2 separate regions of the Homo sapiens genome follow, and region 1 is linked to region 2. Evidence: promoter capture Hi-C in 16 types of primary human blood cells and fetal thymus (Javierre and others, 2016). All regions are on one chromosome and are shown on one strand. The core of a region is centred on a gene start or on the middle of the fragment in contact, and the rest is flanking DNA. Distances in the headings are between cores, read along the strand shown.

The links. The method cuts DNA at HindIII sites, captures the fragments that hold promoters and counts their contacts. A CHiCAGO score of 5 or more calls a contact.
Region 1: a fragment that was not itself captured here is called in contact with the fragment with the promoter of DCAF4L2 in region 2 in 1 of 17 cell types (endothelial precursors); the score reaches 5.1 in endothelial precursors.

What each region holds. Positions count from the first base shown.
Region 1 is chr8:88,322,871-88,329,670 of GRCh38, forward strand. MMP16 (matrix metallopeptidase 16) reads right to left here and starts at 4,613. Exons shown (of 10, transcript NM_005941.5): 1 at 4,205-4,613. The coding sequence starts at 4,336. LOC105375630 (a long non-coding RNA gene) reads left to right here and starts at 4,974. Exons shown (of 8, transcript XR_001745653.3): 1 at 4,974-5,028; 2 at 6,059-6,227. The HindIII fragment of the contact is 376 bases long and covers 1,651-2,026 here.
Region 2 is chr8:87,872,218-87,879,169 of GRCh38, forward strand. DCAF4L2 (DDB1 and CUL4 associated factor 4 like 2) reads right to left here and starts at 1,798. Exons shown (of 1, transcript NM_152418.4): 1 at 1-1,798. The coding sequence starts at 1,754. The coding sequence ends at 567. The HindIII fragment of the contact is 8,203 bases long and covers 1-4,424 here.

The sequences.
Region 1 (6,800 bases), core at 589-3,088, 450 kb after region 2:
CATAGTCAAGGTAGAACATGTAGGAGAAGCTAGAGAACCTTAAAACAATTGAGACTCTTGTTCTCCTTATCATAGCTTTGGGCCCTTATGAGCACCCTAAACAGCCAGCATATTTGAGACGTTTTGTTAAACCTGCAATCTTGCGGTACATAAAAATCTTGATGAATCAGTCATACAGCCCCTGTTGTTGACCAGTTAGAAACTGCTACAGTGGAGAATTATAGGCTATATTCAGGAGACAACCTTTACTCAAGAAGGCATGGTACCACCATTCTTCCATGTCCAAATGAAATAATGCATCTTGATTTTTTAAGCAAGCAAAGAACAAGAGAAAAGCAACAGTGTCCCAACATAAGAATGTAAAATTCTATAAAATATAATTTTTATCTCTGAAATGTCTCATGATTAATTATTACCAAATTTATATGCAATACAAAAGTACCCAATGCAAACTCTGACTTTTTAGGTACATGCAGGCAAACCTGACAAAGGTTTGAATAAATCTTAAATCAGTTAAGTAAATATATTGCAAGAAAAATTTAGGAAATAGTTATACTCAATTCATATTTGTCATAAAAGACCCCTTTGAAATCTAAAATATCTCTGCTTTCTTTAATCAGGAACAACAAAATCAATTTTTGCCTTATCAAGACTTTTTTTGTCACAAAAGAGTAATCATTTTATGCTTTGATATATGCATCATTTAGAATTTTATATGTTTTTATTTTACCACTAAATCAGCTTGAAAATTTTTTCCTCCCTGGAAATGTATGCTATTGTTTAGAAATTGATAAGGAATATGCTGTTCACATAAGTAATATCTGACAAACTATTCAGAGTTGACGATATGAGAGGTATTACTATCATGAACTATGTTCTGTCTCAAATTTCATAACAAAAATGCTCACAGCATACCAAAAAAAAAAGCCACAGGATCATGAAAATCCCTATATGAGATAGCTATTTTAGGAACAAAATGATTTTTAAGACAGTAGACATTAATAATTATTTGTTAATAATTTAGCTGCTTCTGACCAATGAACACCTCTGATTCAGACTGCTGTCCAATGACAACAGTTTTTGACTTTTAGTTAATATTAGCAATGTTCCCTTGCATCGTGCTAATTATCACATACTGAAAGACCAACTCTTAAAAAAGGGATCCAATGATATATGGATATCTTTACCTAAGTGAGTATATACTGAAAACTTAACAATAAAAGTGTTCCACTTGAAATGAAAGTAGAGCAGTGTATTGAATCTCTTCCATAGTACTACTCCTGGTAGTGTCTGACCCTTTCTTAGCTGTAAGAGATGTTCCTTTTTGCTTCTTAAAAAACAAGCTAACCAAGCAAAACCAAATGCACTCTCTTTCTGTAACAGGATTTCATCACCATATTAAAAATATCTCTCACTTCGATAATTGACAACTCCAAATATTTATACCCTTAAAAATCAGACAGGAAAGAGTTAACATGAATACCTCTAGCCAACCACCCTCTTCAAATCCCCCACTTCCCTGGGAAAAATATACAGTCTTAAACCTTAAATCACAGAGATAAAAAAGAATGGGGGGACCACAAATTGTTAAGTTTAGTGATGAATAAAGCAATGTAATCTTAGTTGTCAGCATAAAAAGCATCCCCCTGAAGCTTTGTTCCAACTATAAAAACTTTCTGTGCTTACTGAAAAAAAATTTTATGATCATATGAGCTTCATGCATGACTGATATCATTACTGTTTATTTTAAGACTATCCTTGAGAATCAATCAAATAAAACATTCCCAGTGTGTATGTTTTGCAACCAGAATGAGGAACACAATGTAAGTGCCTCTTCTGGAGAGGAAGTGATGGACCATTCTTCCCATTAGTGTTTCCTATCAAAAAAAAGTCAAATAGAAGTGAATCAGGCAGAAATTTATGTCAGAAAACATCCCGTCATTCTGTGTTCTTGACAATATTTCCATTTCACTAGCAGCTACTCCTACAATCTAAAAAAAAGGGGGGGTATCATTACACATAAAGAAGCTTATAAATCCAACCAAAATGAGCTCAAGAGCTTAAAAATACTATTTGAGGATAACATAAACTAAGGCATATAATCTGCTCTAAACCATGAAAAACTTCCCATTTTATTAAGCAAGATTTTAAAGGTCTGAGATGGCACATGACTTATCTGTCAGGCTTAAATCTGTGTAATAAATATGACTAGAATAATTTAAATCCTCTAAAAATGGGAAAATAACTATTTTCTCCATAAACCATTTTTCCCCACACATCTTAATGAAGAAAGAGAAGGGGTCATTGGAATCCAAAATTAAATAAAATTTGTTAGTACAATCATAACTTTTTTGCATAATAATATCTGAACTTACTGAGGGATTCCAATATAAAGAAATACAATCTTTTATGTTTAGTCTCACAAAAAATCTAATAATCATCAAAACTCATGTTATCCTAACCTCTGAAAGCAAATCTAATACTTTCCTAAAGCAGGTAACCATCAATCCAGGCTGTCCTTCCCTTCCCTTATTCAGAAAGACACAACCTTGCACTTACTTTTACCACCTCCCACACACTCCACCTCACCACCATCACCACCAACCTGAAGCAATAGGCCCTTCTGTTTATAACATTATAAATAACAGCTTGCCACTTTAATTCCTCCAGCCTATGAACTAATCCTTCATTTCAACATTAAATTATCTCTTGATTTAAATGTTAGGTACAAAAATCCATCTGTGGCACGTAATTCCAAAAGTTCAAATTTGCAATAAAAAAAGTCTGGACTTTCAAGCCCCTTTCTCTTTTTATCTAGAAAAATAAAGTTGTATTTTTCAAAGGGTTAAACCTTTTTAGTTTTCAAATTGGGTTTTTTTTGTGTAATTTATTCATACTTAATATCTGTGAAGGTCTTTAACTCTTGATAATAGCTCTTACTTTTTCAAATACTTTTTTTGTACTAACCATGACTTATTACATGAAGTCCTAAGAACAGTTTCTATAAACACAGTTATATTCAGAATATGCCTTTACACATGGCATTTATTATGCACACTCTGTGTATCAATTGGTTACATGAAGCATGTTCAAATACTGTGCAACAGGTCTTGCTATTGTGTAAACACACACTCCCAGCAAAATGACAATAAGCTTCATAATATCAACAATATAAGAAAAAAAATCACATTATTCCTTAAAAAATTATTCATAATTCGTTTGAGAGTTCAGAGGACATCAGATCTAATCAAAAGAAGTAAATGTTACTAAGACCCTCTTACTGGCTTTGTATCCCACCGTATATGTGATAAAGTTGTGTTACAGCCCAGGTGTATACACGCTTTCATTGATTTATTGCACATTACTGGCTTCAGTGCTGACTTGATGACAGGAAGAGTACTTTGGCAGAGGTCTGACAAGTCCCTATCCTTAAGTTCCCTTTTGCTTTGTGCCGTCTGTTCCCAAAGCTATCAAAGTAAAGCAAATGACAGTCTAAAACCTCCCCGTTTTGCCACGAGAGTGTGAAATCAAATTAAAAACACACCTCAAAACTATTACATTGGGCCACGTTTATTTTCAATTGGCGGGGGAGGGGGAAAGAAGACACTTAAAAAGAGATGGATTTCATGTCCTCTGTGTAGCCAGATCTAGTTACAGTGTATTAAGTTATGTCTAAATGAAAAAAAAAAAGATTCTCAAGTGTTTTATCACAAAGTAATGTTATTAAACACATCTAGTGTTCCCACGCTCTCCTCTAGATTCTTTGATTTTTAACCTCCTTTGTTAGGCACCAAACACTGGGAGAAAGATTTCAGGAACAATACCTAGGCAGCACATGATGCCAGGGAATTAATTCTGTCTTCCCCGAGCTGTTTATCCATCATAAACTCAAGCTGCCTTATTTAGCTACACGGTTGCTATATGTAGGACTTCTCTTCCCTGGGTGAAAAGCATGGACCGGCTACAATTGTGTCTTTGAGCGCGCAGCATCGTGCTTTGTGCTGCCGGGGATAACGGATTCTGGGTCTCACACGCATCCGTCACCTAAAACACCCTTAAACTGAACCAGGGTCTCCACAGCTGGAAGGGAAACAACGTGCTGGGACCCAGGCTGCTCTGAGCTACAAGGATCCCAGGAGTGAAGGAAATGTTTCAGGGAGCAGCCCAGGCAGCGGGGGGAGGAAGAAAGCCCTCGCACTCTTACCTCCACATTGAAATACTGCTCCGTTCCGCAGACTGTAGCACATAAAATCCAAAGCAAGGTTTGCAAGAAAAACACCCCCGAATGATGCACGAAATCCAACCGTCTTCCAGTGCTGAATGTGAGTAAGATCATAGTGAACTGTGCTTCAATGGATGGACGAGCTCCCCTTCGTTTTCTCCCTCTCTCCCTCTCCCTCCCTCCCTCGTTTCCTTTCAAAAAAAAGTCCTCCGGGTGGGTAAGGAGCCTGCAGGTTCACCCACAGCCGGGCAAGGGGAGGAGACAGGGGCCCCGCGCTCGGCAGCCCCCGAGAGGCAGCGGCGAAGACAGGGTCAGCAGTAGTTCCTGTTCACCATCCTCCGGGGTCAGTCACCGGGAACGTGGCGCCTAAGTTCACCGGCGGTTCCGGCTCAAAGAGCCTAGTCGCAGCCGCAGCAGCAGCAGCCGCCGCCGCCGCCGCCGCCTCCAGCCCGTGCGTCCTCCTCCTGCACTGCCTACTCCTCCTCCTCCTCCGCCGCCGCCGCCGCCCCCAGCTCCTGCGGGAAGGGCCTCCGCCGCTCCTCACTCTCTCGCCTCTGCTTCTCCTTCCCTCCTCTCCTCGCTCCCCTCCAGAATGTTCATCCGTAATCTACATAACTCCTCCTTCCCGGGGTCTGCCTGGCTCTCGGGGCCCTTGGCGCGCGCGCGCGCGCGCACACACACACACACACACACACACACAGAGACACACCGCGACACACACACACACACGCGCGCATACACACAGCCCGACACACACGCACGCGCGCTTCTTAAAGGAGACGGCTCATAAAGGATTCCCCACTACGGTAGGGCGCACCGGAGGTATCCAGCCCGCGACAAGGGCCCTGGTTTGAGCACAGCTCTTCGACAGTATCTCCCATCCCGCATCCCCGAGGCAGGCACCCAGGAACTTGGGCGGCTCCATTCTTTCTTCCCGCCCACCCTGCCGCCTCGCATCTAAAAACGAGTGCGCCCCTCTCCAGCCATGAGCTGGGTGGGGCTCAGGCTGCGGACCCTAGTGGGGCCTGGGGAGCGGCCCAACCCTGGTCCTGGAGAGCGGTCGGCATTCCTGAGGAAGCGGCCCTGGAAGAATAGGGGCGCTGGGAATCAGAGGAGCGCCTGGTCACTGAGCGCCCCTGGGTGGCTCGGGTCGGTGGCCGGGGCTGACCAAGTTTGGGAAGACTGAGATAGCAAATCCCGAACGTCCAAAACTTTGTTGGGGTCCCGAGCCTGTGGCCTGGTGTCTTCCTGAATCCCCTCTACCATAGCTACATTCCGCCTTCCAGGCTTGAGGAGTAGGCACAGGGTTTTGGTGGCGGACTAGACAAATACAGAAGCGGGATGAAAACGCTCACTTTCCAAGTGAACGGTGGACACACGCGCACAGTGGGACCCGGGAGAGATGGTCCTGGGTGTTAACAAAACATCCGATGAGAGGGATGGGGGCGCTGGAAAGAAACCGGCTGCGGGAGCCAGGGGAAGGGTTGGGGAAAGAAGGAGAAGAAGCAGCCTGAGGAAAGGCGAGTAAAGCAGCTGGCAAGGGCGGGAGGAAGAGGCTGCTCGCAGACCGAGCGGGGGAGAGGCTGGCGGGAGCTAGGAGAGCTGCAGGCAAGAGGGGGAGGCGGCTGGCAAGAAGCACGGGCGAACGCGGGCAGGGAACTTCAGAGGAGGCTGCCAGAAAGGACTGGAGCTGTAGCAGTGCGAGGCAGTGGACAGGGGGGGCAGCAACCACCAGCCCTTGGCAAGTGATGGTTTGGCTGAAAGAGGAAGGGGGAAGGGAGCGAGGCAAGCATCTGTTTGGGGGCTAATGCCAGTAAATGTGCTTCTCCTTGGCAGCCAGCAGAGGGGAAGAGGAGCCCACGGGAAAGAAAAGCAGGCGAGGTTAAGAATAAAGAGTGTTCCAGGTATGACAGCTACCTCGGTGAGGTGGAAGAGAGAATTGACAAGGCAAATTTCATGGGTGAGTTGGAAAGGCAAGAAGCAGGACTACAAGAGGTCCTATGTGGTAAGCAGATGGAAAATTCTGAGAATGGTTTGCCAAAAATTGTATTAGACTGCAATAACTTTTATCCAATAAAAGAAAAAAAGGCTGAGGAATGGGACTTTGCAGCTGTTGCTGTAAAAATGTAAGAAATGCCCACCCAACTTGACCCAAGACCCAAGAAGTTCTCAGGGAGACCTTCCTGACAGTCTGCCTTGTGCCCAGCATGTGCTGCCCACAAAATAATTTTGAAGATGTAATAAAAAGCAATGTCTTATATTGTATAGTACATTAGAATATTCAGAATGTTTCCAGACATAGTATCTCATTTAATTCTCACACCATCTCTGAGGATTTTGTTTTTATTTTACAGATGAAGTAAATGATAGCAATAAAATATAACGTTCCAGCAAACCATACAAGTGGCAGAGTTCAGACTTTTGTTTCCTGACTCCCAGTTCAGTGATTTTCCTGCTATACTCCAGTGACTTTCCAAATGGAAATTCATTCCTGCTCTTAGCAATTTTATAATCCATAGGTTGAGATGATTTTTTATAAAAGAAACAGCTAGAAGGCAACATGAAAGTAATGTCATTA
Region 2 (6,952 bases), core at 548-3,047:
TAATAAAAGGAGAATCTCAGAGATCTGCTATTGAGTTTGAGAAGGCCAAGTTTAATGATTCCAAAATGTAGCCTTAAAAACTTCTGGAGAGACTCAGATAAATGACCTCCCCCTCCTCTCCTCTCCCACTGGCCTCTTCAAGTACAGATGATGCATGTATTTCCGGAACCCAGGTAGGACTAGTCAAACAGTCTCATGCTTCTCTAAAAGGCTTCTGGTGTAAGCAGTTTTAATTTATTTTAGTTTTTGCCAATCTTCAGTCCTTAGAAAAGTGTTTTTTTGTTAAAAAAAAAAAAAAAGGGGGGGATAACTATTCTAAGGTATTCAACAAGAAAAGGAAATAGTTATCTTTTATGAAAAGGACTTTCAAGCTCTCTCAGCCCAGTTTAACTGAAACAACTTTACAGAACTATCTTCACATAAAACAGCACCTTACCCCTAGCAGCCGGATGGATGGGATCTACAAACACCGAACATCTCTTAAAATGCGCTCATAGAAACGGTAATACGATGCTCTTTACTTCTTTAAGTCAAATCCACGTTCCTCCGGGCTGCATCCTGAAGAATTAACCGTAGGAGAAACAATAAAGGTCCTCCCGGACAGCCATGAGCAGCCCTGGTGCTCCTCGGAAGCCCCCGAGGCGAGAAGAGAAGGCCACACTGGGAATGTCGTTCTCCGAGGCGGGGTATGGGGAGGGTATGGTTGTGAGCAGGTGGCCATGACGGAGGCTCCAGATTCTCGTGTAGCAGTCCTGGCCCACGGCCGCCACGACTCCTTCTTCTTCGTTCACATGCACGGGTAGGTAGGCGGAGTTATTCACATGACCTTCGTACTGTGTTACACATTTAGTGGCCCTCAAGTCCCACAGCTTGATAGTTCCAGTCATGTCTGATGACACCAGGAATTGGCCATCTTGGAGGATTTGCAGAGAAGTCACTGCTGAATCATGGGACAGGCAAATGGCCTTCCACCCGCTGCCTTGATTTCCACAGCGCAGATCAATGCCAAAGATCTCCCCAGAGCGACAGCCATTAAACAGCAAAGGAGTCATGATTGCAAACTGCTGGGCCAAGACATCACTGCTAGTCCCAAATGACTGCTGGTGTCCCGTCACCACGTTGGTCAACAGGACCTGCTGAGACAAGCCTGTACTGAAAGAGTGATACGCGTGGATGCTCAGGGACCAGGCACAGGACCAGGCATCAGGGATCTGGAAACTGCAAAGCATGCCAGGCCGACGCATTCCTGGGAAGCTACCTATGAACAGCGACGCTGGGAGCAGCACGGCACAGCTTGGAGTATCTGCAAGTCCCACGAAGCACAGCAGAAGGTGGGAATCCAAGTGATTCAGTGAGGCCCAGCACATAGAATTCACCTTCCGATTAGGGACGTAGAGGGTTTTGTGCGGGTATACCCGGAGCTCAGGGGTCGTCAGGCCTCGCATGGTGATGATGCCGTACTTGGAGCCTCCAGCTTCGACTTGGTTCACTGTGAAGAGCTGGTCAGTGTTGGTATTCGCCAGTATGCGGTTAAATCGGTCGCTTGCCAAAGAGGAGGGATCCCAGCTATGAATCTGGACCTTTTTCCTCTGCATGCAGCTTACACGCAGCTCGCGAGCTATACGGCAATAGTTGGCGAATCTGAGGAAACCTAGCTGGTTCTTTCGTAGCATGGAAGGTGCATTGAGTCCCACTCTGACTGTCTTTTTCTGCTTGTCTGCTTCCTCGAGCAGTCGCGGTCTTTTGCTCTCCATTTCGTTCGGCGGATGTTCTCCCTCCTGAGGGGAAGTTCTGTCCCGGGAGTAAGAGGAAGTACCGCTTCTTTACAAGCACGACTTGGCACGGAAGAACTTCCCGCTGCGCCTGCGCCTGTGCGTATGAGGTCGACCCGGACGAGATTCTTCGTCGCCTTGGCCCAAATCCCGAATGCTCTGAGGTGCCCTGACATAACTCTCGTTAGAATCGCGTGATCTGAAACAAGAGTTCCGCTGCTTCTCTCGAGTTTTCCCCTACTCAGACAGCTGCTTTTATTCATTTCTATTCCTGTTTAGAGATTCTTTTCCGACCCCTCTTACACACGTCATAATAGCTGTATGCATACATTTCTCTTATTTACTAAGAAGTGAAATTGGCCCAGCACTTTGGGAGGCCGAGGTGGGCGTATTACGAGGTCAGGAGTTCGAGACCAGCCTGGCCAATATGGTGAAACCCTGTCTCTACTAAAAATACAAAAATGAGCCGGGCATGGTGGCGCGCGCCTGTAGTCCCAGCTACTCGGGAGGCTAAAGCAGAAGAATCGCTTGAACGCAGGAGGCGAAGGTTGCAGTGAGCCGAGATAGCCCCACTGCACTTCAGCCTGGGCGACAAAGGGAGACACCGTCTCAAAAAAAAAAAATTTGAAAGTGGAGGGTTATTAGGTAGACATATATAGCTTAAGTAGATATTGACAAACCAATTACACTCTTGTCAAAATATGGCTTAAGTAGATATTGACAAACCAATTACACTCTTGTCAAAAGTGTATATATATCCTTGCCAATTCTTGTTGGTCAGTTTACATTTTAGATATAAATAATTTATAATTGTTTTTGTCTTCCTGTTGAAAGATTGCCATTATTATTATAAAATATTCCTTTTTAACTTTTATTTATTGATTGACTTTATTTTATTTTTGTGAGATGGAGTCGCGCTCTGTCGCCCAGGCTGGACTGCAGTGGCGTGATCTCGATTCACTGCAAGCTCCGCCTCCCGGGTTCACGCCATTCTCCTGCCTCAGCCTCCTGAGTAGCTGAGACTACAGGCGCCTGCCACCATGCCTGGCTAATTTTTTGTATTTTTAGTAGGGATGGAGTTTCACCATGTTAGCCAGGATGGTCTTGATATCCTGACCTTGTGATCCACCTGCCTTGGCCTCCCAAAGTGCTGGGATTACAGGCATGAGCCACTGCGCCCGACCAACTTTTATTTATTTTATTTTATTTTATTTTATTTTATTTTACTTTATTTTATTTTTTGAGACGGAGTCTCGCTCGTCACCCAGGCTGGAGTGCAATGGCTCTATCTCAGCTCGCTGCAAGCTCCACCTCCCGGGTTCAGGCCATTCTCCTGCCTCAGCCTCCCAAGTAGCTGGGACTACAGGCTCCGCCACCATGCCCGGCTAATTTTTTTGTATTTTTGGTAGAGATGGGGTTTCACCATCTTAGCCAGAATGGTCTCGATCTCCTGATCTGGTGATACACCCGCCTCAGCCTCCCAAAGTGCTGGGATTACAGGCTTGAGCCACCGCGCCTGGCCCAACTTTAATTTTTTTAAATCTGTGTTCTCTGATATTAAAGTATCCTTATCCTTAAACCCTTCTTGTCTAATATTTATATATGCAACCAAGATTTCTGGTTGATAGTGTTTGCTGTACCTTTTCTCACCTTTTACTTTCAACTTAAATTTGTTCTATTATGTAAATGGGTTCATATAAACAATACATTGCTGGTAAGTTTTTATCCAGTATAATAATTTTTACCTTTGAATGTGAGTGTCTAGGCAATTTAATGTTTTAACTAACCCCTTTAAAAATTCTTGAACAGTCTTAGATTTACAGGGAAATTACAAAGATAGTATAGAGCCTTCCCACATACTCTGCACCCAGTTTCCATATTATTAACATTTTACGCTAGAATGATAAATACATTGCACTAATAAACCAATATTGATACTTTATTAACTGAAGTCCATATTTTATTCATATTTCCTTAGTTTTTATCCAGTGGCCTGTTCCTGTTCAAGGATCCCATCCATGATATAATATTAATTATGTTCCCTTGTGCTTCTCTTGGCCATGACCTTTTCTTAGATTTTCCTTACTTTTTATATACATGACAGCATTGAGGCATATTGGTCACATATCTTATAGATGTCTCTCAATAGAGAGTTGTCTGATGTTTTTCCCATATTAACACTGGGATTTTATGTTTTTGGAAGAAGACAACAGAGGAAAATGCCATCCCATTAAGGGTGCAGACTATGGACATGACTTATTGTCATTGATGTTAACTTTGGTCACCTGAATAAGGTAGTGTTTCTTGGGTTTCTCCACTGTATGCTGTAAACATCTCCCTCTCTTTTCATACTGTACCCTTTGAAAGGAAGTAGCTTTGCATATCTATCACTTTAGGAGTAGGGATTTATGCTTTAGTTTCTTGAGGGCAGAACATGCACATCAATTATTAGGAATTATTCTATAAGGGAGATTTTTCTAGGTGTGTCTTTATTAATCTATCCATTTATTTATATAGTATGGCCTCTTGAATATTTATTTTATACTTCATTTATTTATTTGCTAAAATTGTTCCAGCTTTGGCTATTGAGAGCTCTTATGGCTCCTGTGATTGACTGCCTATAGTTAACTGCATGGTTAGCTGTACTCTAAAAGCTTGAGACCACTTGACACCAGAGCCCTTATCTTAGACTTAAATATGTGATTAAAAATTATAATCATTTTCTTACAGCTTTGATTTTGATGTACTGTATATTGCATCATTCCAAAAAAATAGACTTTGGATGTGGAAATATTTGAAGAAGAAATTGAGATTTTTTTTTAATGATAACAATTTGTATTAATAATATCTGAGAACTACCATATATTCTTAGGATTTGTAGAATCCCCAGGTAGGGTATCAAGAAGTAGAAGTAAAAGCCTTAACCATTAAATATATTTTTTTCTTGTAAATTTTTTATTTTTTTATTTCAATAGTTTTGGGGGAACAGGTGGTGTTTGGTTACATGAATAAGTTCTTTAGCGGTGATTTCTGGAATTTTGGTGCACCCATCATCTGAGCAGTGTACACTGTCCCCAGTGTATAGTCTTTTGTCCCTCGCCACCTTTGATTTTGATTTACTATATATTTTGTCATTCCAAAAAATAGATTTTGGATGTGGAAATATTTGAAGAAGAAATGGAGATTTCTAAAAACCAAACAGACACACCCACATAACTTTTGGAATGGCAAAAAAAAAAAAATGGTGATAATATGGAGTAACGCAAACTCTCATTGCTGGTAAGGATATAAAATGGTACAGCCACCTTGGAAAACAGTTTGGCAGTTTCTTAGAAAACTAAACATATTCTCACCATATGATCCAGCAATCATGCTCCTTCATATTTACCCAAAGGAATTGAAAATTTGTATTCACACAAAAACATCCACACGGATGTTTACAGCAACTTTATTCATAATTGCCAAAACTTAGAAGCAAACAAGATGTCCTTCAGTAGATGGAAGGATAAATAACAGTAGTACATCCAGGCAATGGAATATTATTCAGCACTAAAAATAAATGAGTTATGAAACCATGAAAAGACATGGAGAAAAGTTAAATGAATATTACCAAGTGAAAGAAGCCAATCTGAAAAGGCTAAATACTGTAAGATTCCAACTACATGACATTCTGTAAATGGAGAAACTATGGAGGTAGTAAAAAGGTCAGTGATTGCTAGCAATTAGAGGGCATATAAGAGAAAAGTATTTTTCTTATCTTGGTATAAAGCACAAATATAAAATGTTTATAGGGTATGAGGAGACTAACAATATCTTCTGAAGAATTATGGACAGCAGAGTCATTAATATTTGAAAATATCATTGAGGAACATCAGAATCCCTTTATAAATTTTTTCTACTTAATACTGAAACCAGAAAAGCATAGATCTTTTAAAATCTAGATATTTACTTAATTATGATGTTTATTTTTAATGAGGTGTTCTGAGTGTTAAAGGTGGTTTTAATTGTATTATCAGTCAGGCTGCAGGGAAAAAAAAACCTGGAACCTCACTTAATTTCTGCCAAAACACTGTCTTCAATTTTATAAGCTAATAATTTAGGAGAAGGGATGATAATCCTTATATGAAACAACACAGTTGCTTGAGTAGCCCGCCATTCATTTATCCTTGGCAAGACAAGGCAGGCTTCATAATCTTAAAAACTCATTTGAATGTACTGAATGAGCATCAAATTGCTTTAAGCGGGCTGTCCTGTTACAGCATAGATATATGAGCTTTCAGCTGTGTCCTTTATCCTGAGATACAGTTTGAACTGTCTTTGAAGAAATGTCCTTTTCTAATAAAACTTAAGTCCAAACTTACATTTCATTGTTCTCTTTCTCACATAATGTACTTTCTTTTAATATAATTCTAGCAGATGGATAGCATTTTTGTTATATTAATATCAATGAGTATGTTCATATAAACACATAAATAAAAATTTATAAGCATACACCTAAAGCCCAAAAGAAGAAAGGTAATTCATAAGATAAATATAAAATCCTGTGTGAGTGACTGCCTTCATTTAGCCAAAAAACATAACATGAAGAGTTGAATATATCGAAAGCTTAGATTGAGATTATATTTTGGCAGCATTAAATATATGCACCAGAATGTACACATTTTGTATATTGACTAAATAACCCTTGAATATTTTACTCAATCTAGAATTCTTTTTCTCATCTTGAGTATACTAAAATTGCTCTTATTGTCTATACTTGATTTTTGGTCAAAATATGAATCACTGTGACCTAGAAGAAAGAGAATTTTTTTTTTTTCAGATGGCGTCTCACTCTGTTGCCCAGGCTGGAGTTCAGTGGCACCACCTCAGCTCACTGCAACGTCTGCCTCCCGGGTTCAAGCGATTCTCCTGCTGCAGCCTCCAGAGTAGCTGGGATTACAGGTGCCTGCCACCATGCCCAGCTAATTTTTGTATTTTTAGTAGAGATGGCATTTCACCATGTTGGCCAGGCTGGTCTTGAACTCCTGACTTCAGGTGATCCTCCTGCCTCAGCCTCCCAAAGTGCTGAGATTACAGGCATGAGCCACTGCGCCTGTCCAGAAGAAAAGAGATTTAATTTTGAATCAAGAGACTCAATTTTGAATTCTACATCTGTCATTTAGTATTGGTAAAACATAACA